3 separate regions of the Homo sapiens genome follow, and all the other regions are linked to region 1. Evidence: promoter capture Hi-C in 16 types of primary human blood cells and fetal thymus (Javierre and others, 2016). All regions are on one chromosome and are shown on one strand. Each heading gives the region's core, a stretch centred on a gene start or on the middle of the fragment in contact. The rest is flanking DNA. Distances are from core to core; before and after follow the strand shown.

Evidence for each region. The method cuts DNA at HindIII sites, captures the fragments that hold promoters and counts their contacts. A CHiCAGO score of 5 or more calls a contact.
Region 2: a contact is called between the fragment with the promoter of TIMM9 here and the fragment with the promoter of FKBP3 in region 1, in 2 of 17 cell types (naive CD8 T cells and total CD4 T cells). The highest score is 7.6, in naive CD8 T cells.
Region 3: a contact is called between a fragment that was not itself captured here and the fragment with the promoter of FKBP3 in region 1, in 1 of 17 cell types (total B cells). The highest score is 10.1, in total B cells.

The regions. Positions count from the first base shown.
Region 1 is chr14:45,132,620-45,136,408 of GRCh38, forward strand. It overlaps FKBP3 (FKBP prolyl isomerase 3), which reads right to left and starts at 1,862. Exons shown (of 7, transcript NM_002013.4): 1 at 1,730-1,862. The coding sequence starts at 1,837. It overlaps FANCM (FA complementation group M), which reads left to right and starts at 3,311. Exons shown (of 23, transcript NM_020937.4): 1 at 3,311-3,789. The coding sequence starts at 3,413. RefSeq lists enhancers at 1,060-1,931, 1,619-1,838, 1,932-2,802, 3,465-3,514 and a silencer at 1,808-1,985. The HindIII fragment of the contact is 3,907 bases long and covers 553-3,789 here.
Region 2 is chr14:58,425,782-58,429,570 of GRCh38, forward strand. It overlaps TIMM9 (translocase of inner mitochondrial membrane 9), which reads right to left and starts at 1,750. Exons shown (of 6, transcript NM_012460.4): 1 at 1,611-1,750; 2 at 1,273-1,461. It overlaps KIAA0586, which reads left to right and starts at 1,938. Exons shown (of 31, transcript NM_001329943.3): 1 at 1,938-2,682; 2 at 3,582-3,652. The coding sequence starts at 2,484. RefSeq lists enhancers at 1-885, 1,900-1,949, 2,020-2,209. The HindIII fragment of the contact is 11,466 bases long and covers 1-3,789 here.
Region 3 is chr14:58,305,415-58,309,203 of GRCh38, forward strand. ARID4A (AT-rich interaction domain 4A) reads left to right here. Exons shown (of 24, transcript NM_002892.4): 5 at 608-698. Among named protein-coding and RNA genes, the nearest start is that of ARID4A, 8.8 kb to the left of the region's middle. The HindIII fragment of the contact is 534 bases long and covers 1,544-2,077 here.

The DNA of each region.
Region 1 (3,789 bases), core at 612-3,111:
TCAATGCCTGGCCTCAACTGTTAGTCAGGATGGTCTCGATCTCCTGACCTCGTGATCCGCCCGCTTTGGCCTCCGAAAGTGCTAGGATTACAGGAATGAGCCACCACGACCGACCGAGACTATGCATTTAAAAGATTAATGTTATAAAAACATTTTGATAATCCAAGTCTGTTGAAATTCTTCCACGTGGCCCAGTTTTACATACGATTCCACATGGCATGATTTGTTTCATAAGAATATGATGGATGAAGTACATGACTGAGGTATTATTAAATGTTAATGATGTCTATTCTATTGTTTCAGATGAAATACGAATTGGCTTAAGAGAAAATAGTTCCATTAAAATGGGGTAAGATCCCCGACACATGTTCTTTTTCACCCTTGTACCTCCAAACACTGAGAATAGTTCTTGTTACAGATGTTGTATTAATATCTGCTAAATTAATCTAAGATGCGGATGCCAGGATAATAATTAAGGAAGAAGGCACTGGAAGTTGGAGAGTTCTTCTATCTCCCTGTCATGACGCCCGCCCAAAATGAAAATAAAATATAAGCTTCTCAAAATAACCCAGAAATAGTGGCTCACGCCTGTAATCCCAGCACTTTGGGAGGCCGAGGCGGGCGGATCACGAGGTCAGGAGATCGAGACCATCCTGACTAACACGGTGAAATCCCGTCTCTATTAAAAATACAAAAAATTAACCTGGCGTGGTGGCACGCGCCTGTAGTCCTAGCTACTCGAGAGGCAGAGGCAGGAGAATCGTTTGAACCCGGGAGGCGGAGGTTGCAGTGAGCCGAGATCGCGCCACTGCACTCCAGCCTGGGCAACAGAGAGAGACTCCGTCTCAAACAAACAAACAAAAAAACCCAGAAACAGTTTTTCTAAATGAAAAGTTTAGAATTTTAAAAATTGTATAGAAAACACAAGCAGGCTGCCGCTTGTAAGAGAATGCTGCGTGCACAACTATTTCAGCAATTTAACAGGTGCATGAATGAACTTATTTTCCAAAGGAAAAACAAGTGTAACAAAAATAACTTGACTATAGACGGATGGTTAAGATGGAGACTATGCTGACAAATGGAGAGCCTACAGTATAAAGCATTTCAAATAAATTTCTTAGTCTGTTTATAACAATGACAGACCACTGCACAAGAGAAATGTGCATGTAGCTCCCTTAAAGTATAAAGGTGAAAAGGTCATTTAAAGGGTCGATATGTTAAATCAAAACTTAAACCACAACCTACGGATTTTTTAAAAATCACACGCATTAATGTTCAGTATTTAGTAAACTGTTGAGAAAAGCAAGTTGGATACACCGTTCCCACAGAAATCTTCACATCCCTTCCCATTTCCCTAGTAGCCGGCGCCCCGCTCCCAGGAGTCTCATCCACACCACTATTCCTCGGCCTCTCCGCCCTAGCCCCCAATATCCTCGGGTTCCTATTTTTCTGGCCTCCACCCCCACTCAAGGATCCCAATGAGGTTCTAACTCTACAATTGCAGCCTGTGTGCCCCAAGAAATAAAGCTGCTCCCCTGCCCCAGTAGAGAACGCCCGAGAGGCGGGAGCGAGGCACCAAAGCACAAGCTGGGCCTCTCCGGCCTTCCAGGCCACCGGCCGCGGGAAGACGAGGGCGGGGGCACAGAGGAATACGGAATGTATGGGCATCTCCAGGGGGGTGAGGCGTCCCTCAGCCGCACCAGCCCGGCCGCCCCTACGCCTCTGGTACCGAATCTGAACCGTGTTCCTGCAGAAACTTGATAATGTCCTTCTTGGGCAGCTGCTCACTGCGCAGCTGCTCCACGGTCCACGCCCGCTGTGGAACGGCCGCCGCCATCTTCCCCCGCTGCCTCCGCTTTACTGAGCCAGCCCGCCGCAGTTCGGCATCGCCCCGCCCCCTAGGGCGGGGCGGGGCCACTCACGGAGGTCGAGGGGCGGGCCTCTGCTCTAGCAGTCGGGATTGGGGCCTGTCTTTGAGTGACGTCAAGGCTGTGCTATGAGGGCTTCTTTGTTGAGTCCGGGTTGAAAAACCTACCGCGGTCGTCTCTGCAGTCGACTGAGTAGAAGACCGCTAGAGATCTTCGATTCTGAATTAGACACCTTGTGAAGCGACCTCTGATGGTAGCGACATTTATCAACCATTACCCACATTTAAGGCAGCTATGCCTTTAAAGTCCAGTCTATAACCTGTTAAAAGAAAACAGCATTCAGGCTCCTTATCTCGTTTTATCTAGTTCTAGCCTAAAAAGTCACACCTGAAGTGCTTCAGTCCTTGTCGATCCGAAAACCCATATCCCACCATTTCCCTTTTAAAGATCACACAACCGAAACTTAAATACAAACTGCCCATCCCCTTCCCCCCATACAAATACGAGAAAGTTTGTCCAAAACGAAGTTCAGAAACTTTAACAAATAAAACAATTTATAAAGAAGCCGCACTCAGGATGCCACTTGCTGATGAGAATGACATTATTAATGCTCGTAACTCTGTGATGTATATTTTTTTCTCAGTACACGAGGAAACAAATTTACAGAGGTTACTCAAAGTCAGGTTTAGAGAGAAGTCAGGAATTATTTGAGACAGAAATCTTCGTTAGAGTGGAATAATTGCACACCGACGTTTATTATAATGCTCTTACCTATAATAAAGATTTAATAGTTGAACATCAGGACTCCTTACTTAAAAAAATGTAGGCTGACTCTGGGCATGTTGCCTATGAGTTAGCTCTGCTTTGCAAGGAGCATTAAAAAAAAAAATTCTGACGAATAGCTGGACCAGACCACGTTCACTTCCCTTTAAACAATGAAAATATTAAAATAATGGGTTGCCACTCCCAGCGCGGTGAAAAAGAGACTTGGCATTTTGTTTTCTCAGCCCAGATAGAGATATAAGACAAATTATTCCATCTACACATTTTTGCTTTTCACTTTATATTCTGATTTAAAAGTACAAGGAATGAGGCACGTTAGACGCTCAATAACATTAAGTTCCCAAACTGGTGGCTATTCCATTGTCCCCGGGTATGTAATATTTTACAATAAATCTCTATTATAACATTTTAAGTGATTTATCACGTTAGCAATGACGCCCAGCCATCTAATCATTGGAAACGGAACTTAAATTTAGAGTTTGTTAAAACAAAACACCGGAACCGCACCGGGGACCATATTTAGAGTAACGCCTTAATAATGCGCATGAGTCTCCGGCAGGGCTGTGAAGGTTTCCGGGAAGCCAGCCAATCATTCCCAACGGAAACTCAGTAGCGGCATTTTCAACTGGATAAACTGGCCTTAGTCCCGCCTTCTCGTTCCAGAGTTTTGTGCGAAGGAAACCGATGGGGATCGGAACCGTAGCGGTTGAGCTGCTGCTGCTACGGATATCTGACAGAAGCCTTCGGTGGTTGTCGGCCTAATGAGCGGACGGCAAAGAACGCTTTTTCAGACGTGGGGCTCAAGTATCTCCCGATCATCTGGGACTCCGGGTTGCAGCTCCGGAACTGAGCGACCTCAGAGCCCTGGCAGCTCCAAGGCGCCTTTGCCAGCAGCAGCGGAGGCTCAGCTGGAGTCGGACGATGATGTGTTGCTTGTCGCGGCGTACGAGGCTGAGCGGCAGTTGTGTCTAGAGAATGGCGGGTTCTGCACCTCCGCGGGCGCCCTGTGGATTTACCCTACCAATTGCCCAGTGCGGGACTACCAGCTGCACATTTCCCGGGCTGCTCTGTTTTGCAATACGCTGGTGTGTCTGCCTACCGGACTGGGAAAGACCTTTATTGCCGCCGTGGTCATGTA
Region 2 (3,789 bases), core at 500-2,999, about 13 Mb after region 1:
GTACCACCTATGAGCCCAATTACGAAGAGAAAATGTAACTAAAATAAAAAATAATGGCCACGTGCGGTGGCTCACGCTTGTAATACTAGCACTTTGGTAGGCCGAGGCGGGTGAATCAAGTCAGGAGTTCGAGACCAACCTGGCCAACATGGTGAAACCCCGTCTCTAATAAAAATACAAAAAAAATTAGCTGGGCGTGGTGGCGGGCGCCTGTAATCCAGCTACTCAGGAGGCCTGAGGCAGAAGAATCGCTTGAACCTGGGAGGCGGAGGTTGCAGTGAGCCAAGATCGCGCCACTGCACTCCAGCCTGTGCCACAGAGTGAGACTTTGTCTCAAAAAACAACACAAAACTCATTAGAGAAACTCAGCAAGTTACAAAAAAATAATAATTAAAAGGGTCTTTAACGCTGAGCCCTTAAAGTCTTTTTTTTTCTTTTTTTTTTAAGACAGTCTTGATCTGTCACTCAGGCTGGAGCACAATGGCGCGATCTCAGCTCACTGCAACCTCCACCTGCCGGGTTCAAGCAATTCTCTTGCCTCAGCCTCCTGAGTAGCTGGGACTACAGGCGCGCGCCACCATGCCCAGTTAATTTTTTGTATTTTCAGTAGAGGCGGGGTTTCACCTTGCTGGCCAGGCTGGTCTCGAACTCCTGATCTCGTGATCCGCCCGCCTTGGCCTCCCAAAGTGCTGGGATTACAGGCGTGAGCCACCGCGCTCAGACTTTAAAGTCCATTTTAAGTCTAGACTTCTATGAAGGTAGACTGCCGAGATGTAAAAGAAATAAAATTAGTTATTTAGCTTTTAGATCGGATTACATTTTCTGCTTTGATTATTCTAAAGCCTCCAGTAAGGCGTAAAGGGAAAGCTCTAAGTAGCGCATCCTGGGAAATGAGCAGATCAGGGAAGGGGTGTTAGACCTGGTATTATGTCTAAAGACGATTTTCATTTAAAGGAGGATCTTCCCCCGGGCAGCTCAAGGTCACATCGTAAATACCTTATAGTCTAATTCAGTGTCCCAAAACAGGACCCCGACTCCCCAGATCCGGGTTGGGGGTGGCTCAGGGCCTAAAGTTCCTACCCTCGCCCAGGTGACACCATCTCCAGGAAGGTCTGCACCCGACCCGGCGAAGCGCTGTCCCGCTTCGCACCCCCCACTGCTCCAGGTACGTGCGGCGGCCTCCTCGGGAGACCCCGCCACTTTCCTGGAGCGTAGCCTGCCACCCCCCGTCCGGGAACCCCGGATTCTCACGGCAGAGAACAGACACCATACTTAAGCACAGGCTCTCGCATCCGACATCAGTACAAGGCTGGGGGTTGTTGGGGGACGGTTGAGCCTTGGGAGGGAGGGTCAGGGTCTGGACAGGAGCCGCGGCCGCCAGATGGGAAAGAACACGTGGGAGCAGTAATGTCAAGTGACACTTAAACCCTTAGACGCCGATTCGTTATAACGCGAGGAAATCTAGAAGAAAAAGCAGGTACCATCAGCGAATTCTAAAATCTCCTAAGGATTAACTTCGGTTATTTTCTGCTTAGACAACGCTTTCTATTCCCGACTTCCTCTCCAATAATGACCCGAATCTGTCGAAACTTCTTGGAAGCCTAATTTACCTAATCCCACGTCCCTAACGGTCTTCGGAAGCGAAGCAGTGTCAACAGTCCCTGGTAAACACAAGTAGTATTACAAGTCGGGAGCTCTTCAAGTCTTGGATGAGACTGTAGAGCGGTCTTGTGCGGCAATGTGCTACCTTAAAATAAATAAATAAATAAACCCCTGTTATGTCCGGAGTTTGTTTCCACCCGGAGAGGAATGGAAGAGCACCAGAGAGCGCTTAGCTTTCTGGTTGGATGTTTTGGGTGAGTTTCTTGGCGCGCATGCGTGTTGTGTCTCAAGGGCGGGTTTGAAGGGAAGTGGGTGTTGACCTGCGGGCAACTGACGCTGTTGTCAGATTACACCCACGACGGTGCGGGTCTCGGGCGTTCTGGAGATACGTAGGGGTGAATTTATGTTTCCGACGATTGCATCTGGAGGGGTGTGTAAGACTCTGTGGCTGAAGAAAGCTATTACGCTTCTTATGTGGGTCATTATTTTAAAAATAGCATTTCGCTTTTATTTGCTTGACTGCCTCTTCTCAACAAATTTTAAGCCCGCCACTACATGTGTTTGGTTTTGCCCTACCAGCTCTGGGGTTGGGGAGTGCACTGTTATGGTTATTGTTGCTCCTGTGGCCATTCTCTTGTCATCCCCACTTTCACATTTTGGCGTGGTGTATTAATAGACTGAGTGGGATTAATGGGTAAATATGACTTTATAGTCAGCTCTAATCCTGGATTCAATATCAGAATTTAGATTTTCAGCTTTGTGGATGTTCGACATTTTAAAAACAGTTATTGCAAAGAGGTGAAAATTTTGTTCTGAAGTCTTAAGGAAACAGAGAAAGTTTTTCCGTCCTTAAGTGTGGGACTTGTTTTGTGACCAACAATATGAAAGGCTCTGAGGTCAGCTTGGAGAAGAAAAAAAAGATTAAGATGCCAGTGAAGAGACTTCGTGAGGTAGTTTCTCAAAATCATGGAGATCATTTGGTTTTGCTGAAAGATGAGTTGCCCTGTGTTCCTCCGGCATTGTCTGCAAATAAACGTCTTCCTGTTGGAACGGGGACTAGTTTGAATGGAACATCACGTGGTATGTGATTCCATGTAGTTTTTCAACCAGTTTTAGTTTAGTAAATCTTTAGTCCTTATTTGTTTAAATTCCCAAACGTAAGATATAAGTCTAGTTTGTACAGATGTTTGAAAACTGACCCTGTTTCCCGGGAAAATGGCCAGGAAGCCTATAAAATGTTTGAATAGATGGAATGAATGAAACTTTAACGTCCCCTGTTGTGCTTTTTTTTTTTTTTTTTGCATTGACTTTTGCATATTTTTTTTTTTATATTTATGGTGGATACACTTAACTTGTATAATGTGCTTTATTTTCCCCCACGTAGTGTTTTTTATAGTTTTCCCCCAAAGTAGTGCTTTTTACCTAATTCACTACTTTCTTTTCATAGTGGGAAAAGCAGGACTTCTGCCAATTGATGGCTTCTATATTCCAATTCACTTAATCTGTCTAGAGCTCAGTGAAAATAAGGATAACATATGCTTTACCCACTTCGCTGCTAATTGTGAGGATTAAATTAATGAATATGTGAGCAAAAACAGCAAAACGCTTTTGTAATGCTGTTCTTTGGGGGATACAGCGGTGACACTCAAATAGTACTGCTGTTAAATTAGACCTTTACATCGTATACATATTTCTACCCATAGTTTGTCCACATCCAATAGTGTATGGTTATATTTTAAAATGTTTCGTGCTTAATCTCACTTTATTGTCAGTACCGAACCTTATTTTCCCAAATATCAACTGTAAAAACTTTCATTCAGATATGTTTAAATACATTTTCTTAACTTTTTTTGCATGCAAATTGTCTTTCCAACTTCTGCGTTATATGGAGTTTATAGATCTTGAATCATGCATATACAGTTTCTAAAGCTAAGGATCTGATTTTAAAATCACTAAAATCTATTCCTTTGTTTTGTTAGGTTCATCAGACTTAACTTCTGCTAGAAATTGTTACCAGCCTCTATTAGAAAATCCCATGGTGTCAGAAAGTGTAAGCAAAAGGATTCTTAATTATGCTCACGTTAAAATTTTCAGTATTGTCAAATAATGCATTCTTAAATTATGTTTGATTAGCAGCATGCCTTGTTTTTATTTAAATATCACTTACCAAAACAAATGTTTTATATA
Region 3 (3,789 bases), core at 561-3,060, about 13 Mb after region 1:
GAATACCTAGATTATGTTTTCCATGCATTTCTGGCCATTTGTTTATGTAATAAATCTGTTATATCAGAGTACCACTTTGGTTAATATCTGATATACAAAGGTCTGGAAACTGAAAGAAGGTCAACTGGTCCATCCCTATCTCTCCAGGTGAACCTTTATCTAAAAGGTACCTTAAATACAAATGCTGAATCCAATATTCACTATTTCTGTGAAAGAAAATGGATGCTATTTTGGTTGTCTTATAATTTTACAGTTCTTCGATTTAATTTTCTTGAAGGCAATGTGATATAGTGGAAAAGCTCTAAAGTAAGATTTAAGAGACTGGGCTGTCATGCTGGACTCTGCATATTATTTTCTCTTTCTGAACGGCAATTTTCAGTGTGTAAAGTAGGGGTAATAATAGCTACCTAACTTTTGTCAAAGTGTTTTGGAGCTCAAATTGCATAATAAATAGATAAGTACTATGAATGATAAAGATCTCAGACAGTGTAAGATAGAATTATCATAAGTATGGTGTTTATTTTTCTTAGCTAGATTATATAGTTGGTGGGAGTGATTTGGTTTATTTGTTTAAATTTGGTAAGGAAATTGGGATTTCACATTTTAGGTTGGAGCTATTGTTGAAACAAGGACATCTGATGGATCTTTTCAGGAAGCTATTATCAGCAAGTTGACAGATGCTAGTTGGTATACCGTGGGTAAGTAATTAAGTAATTTAACACAGATTTGATTTGGAGGTTGCATGTATCTGTGTTTTGTGGATACACTGAATCATTGTGTTGGTGGAGAAATATATATTATTTCCTGTCAGTTTACTGGATATAGCTGACTAAAATTCTAAGAATGCCCTGTAGGTAACAAAAATAATTATCTCTTACAGTAAGTTGGCCACTTTTGTCTATTTCATCCAAAAATGTACTTCTATTTTAGGTTACTTTGATGTTTCTTTTCAAGAAAGTTAGATCACATGATTGTGATCACTTTTTCTATAATTACAATTAAAATTGCATAGTTGCGATCGTTACTGTATTGCTACATATTTTATACAAGGGTAATGTAGATGTTGCCAGACAATTTACAGATTTAAAAAATCCTGACCATGGTAGATTCAAGAATAGGTGATTGTTAACTTAGTTTTTGATTTTTGATACAGTGTGGGTGCTCATATTAACAGCTTTCAAGGTCGGGCATGTTGGCTCATGCCTGTAATCCTAGCATTTTGGAAAGCTGAGGCGGGTGGATCACTTGAGGTCAGAAGTTCGAGACCAGCCTGGCCAACATGGTGAAACCCCGTCTCTACTGAAAATACACAAATTAGCCTGGTATTAGTGGTGCATGCCTGTAATCCCAGCTACTCTGGAGGCTGAGGCAGGAGAATCGCTTGAACCTGGGAGGCGGAGGTTGCAATGAGCCCAGATCATGCCACTGCACTCCAGCCTGGGCGACAGAGTGAGATTTGGTCTCAAAAAGAAAACAGCTTTTAAGAAAAATATAGATGCTCCTAATATGAATGCATGAATGCATTCTTAACATTCCATGCATAAGCTTATACTGGCTTTAGATAACTTTATTGTATTAATAGTGAGAAGCAACAAGTGTCATAATACTTGTAAGTTAAAACCTTAAAGTAGTACTTAAATAGTTGCTGTCATTATGTTGATGAGAATAGCATTAAGTAACATTTCCAAATCTCCTCTCAGTACTTTCAAACTGCACAATCCTGTGGATAACATCCAATCTATAGCATTGTTGGTTTTTATACTTATTTCTTGGTTTAAGTGGTATAATTATTTTGTGGTTTTCTTGTAGAAATAAAAGAATGACCATTTAGGTTTACTTTTAGTTTACTTGATTTGTTGCTTTGGGTAAAAATCATTCACATCCAGTTGATGCTCAGTGTTGTGAAGAACTATGCTTTGGTTAAAAATTTCTCTGTCTTACCCTGTACCTTCTATTAGTAGTACCAATTTGCTGTGTGTAAGTACTTTTTTCAAACCTCTTTGATGCTTCTTGGACTTACTAGAATTTAGTGTTGGTTCACAGTGGTGCTATTATTCTGAACTACATATTTTTAGGAAGCTTAGTTGTGGCTACTGATAGTTGTTAAATTTTAAAAACTAAGTGGCCAGATGCAGTGGCTCTAACCTGTAATCCCAGCACTTTAGGGGGGCGAGGTGGGCGGATCACCTGAGGTCAAGAGTTCAAGACCAGCCTGGCCAACATGGCGAAACCTTGTCTCTACTAAAAATACAAAAATTAGCTGGGTGTGGTGGTGGGCGTCTGTAATCCCAGCTACTCAGTAGGCTGAGGCAGGAGAATCGCTTGAATCTGGGAGGCGGAGGTTGCAGTAAGCCTAGATTGTGCCATTGCACTCCAGCCTGGGCAACAAGAGCAAAACTGCGTCTCAAAACAAATAAAAACTAAGCTTAATGTTAACTCTTAGAGATTAAGTAAATACATCTTTGCTTTATCAAACTAAGACCTGATAAAAATTACAGGTGTGTGTAGAATCACCGGAAAATATATGATGCATATTCAGATATTTATATTGCACCTTATATTTTAACTCACTATAAAGGTTGTACTCACTTTGAAGCTTTACTGATAAAATGCGCATGCTCTATAGAAGGATTACTTTTCAGGTTTTCTCATTTTGGGTTTCTTTATCCCAGAGTAGTTATTCAATTATGAATAGCAACCTTTGTCCTCTACATGAGTAGCGTTTTAGTGTTTCTAAAAACTAGTCACTGCTAAGCATTCTCTATGGTGATTTTCTGTGTTGGATAATTACAGAAGAAATTGTATAATTCTTGTTCTCAAAGAGCTTTAGAATCTTAATTGCATATAATTGAGGTATCAAGCATTAGTGGACATAAGAATCACTTGGTGCTTGCTTAGAAAAATGAGGATTTGAGGACCCCAAGCCTCTCCAATTAGTAGGCCTGGGGATGGCAGTACAAGAATGTTTTAATAAGCATGTCAGTGATTCTGATGCAGGTAGTTCACACTTATAAAAACAGGGAAAAACAGATTTATTTGGGAGAAAAATTCAAAATATTAAAGATTTTTGCACTTACGTGCATGAAGGAAATTCATAAAAAGATTTTGAAAGGCACTGTTCCATTCAGAAAACTCAAGATAGCACTGCTCTAAAGAACGTTTAGATATTGAAGGAAGTGGATCACATAAAGAATGATCAGAGTATAATGACCTGAGTTACCAGTTGGTTTAAAAAAAACAGTACAATGAAATGTAAAACCTCTTGGGTCATGAACATCCTGTATTTTTCTTTCAGTGAGTACCTACTACCTACCTATTAGGTGTAATTGCTCTTTTCTGGAATTTTTTTTGATTTCTAGTTCCTAGCAAAGTATTACATGGGTATAGTCAGAAAATTATTCAGAGTGTTTATGACGTGTGTTACCTTTTTTGGTTTCATGAGATACCAGAAATTATGTCAGATTATTAAAAATAAAACAAGAGGATACCACATTGCTGGTTTGGATCAAATAGGAGTTATGATCATTAGTGATCTAAAGTTATCATTAGAGTCAGTGATATTAACTTCTTCTTGCATAATACAGGTATCAATTTCCCTTCTGTTAAACATGATTAACCAATTTTGAAAGAGATTATGGATATAGTATGACTCAGTTTTTAAAAAATCTGGTAATATCTTACCCTCTAATGGTTTATTTCTTGTTTGTTTGTTCGTTTTAGAGACAGGATCTTGCTCTGTTGCCCAGGCTTTTGTTCAGTAGCACTATTGTAGCTTCCTGCAGCCCTGAA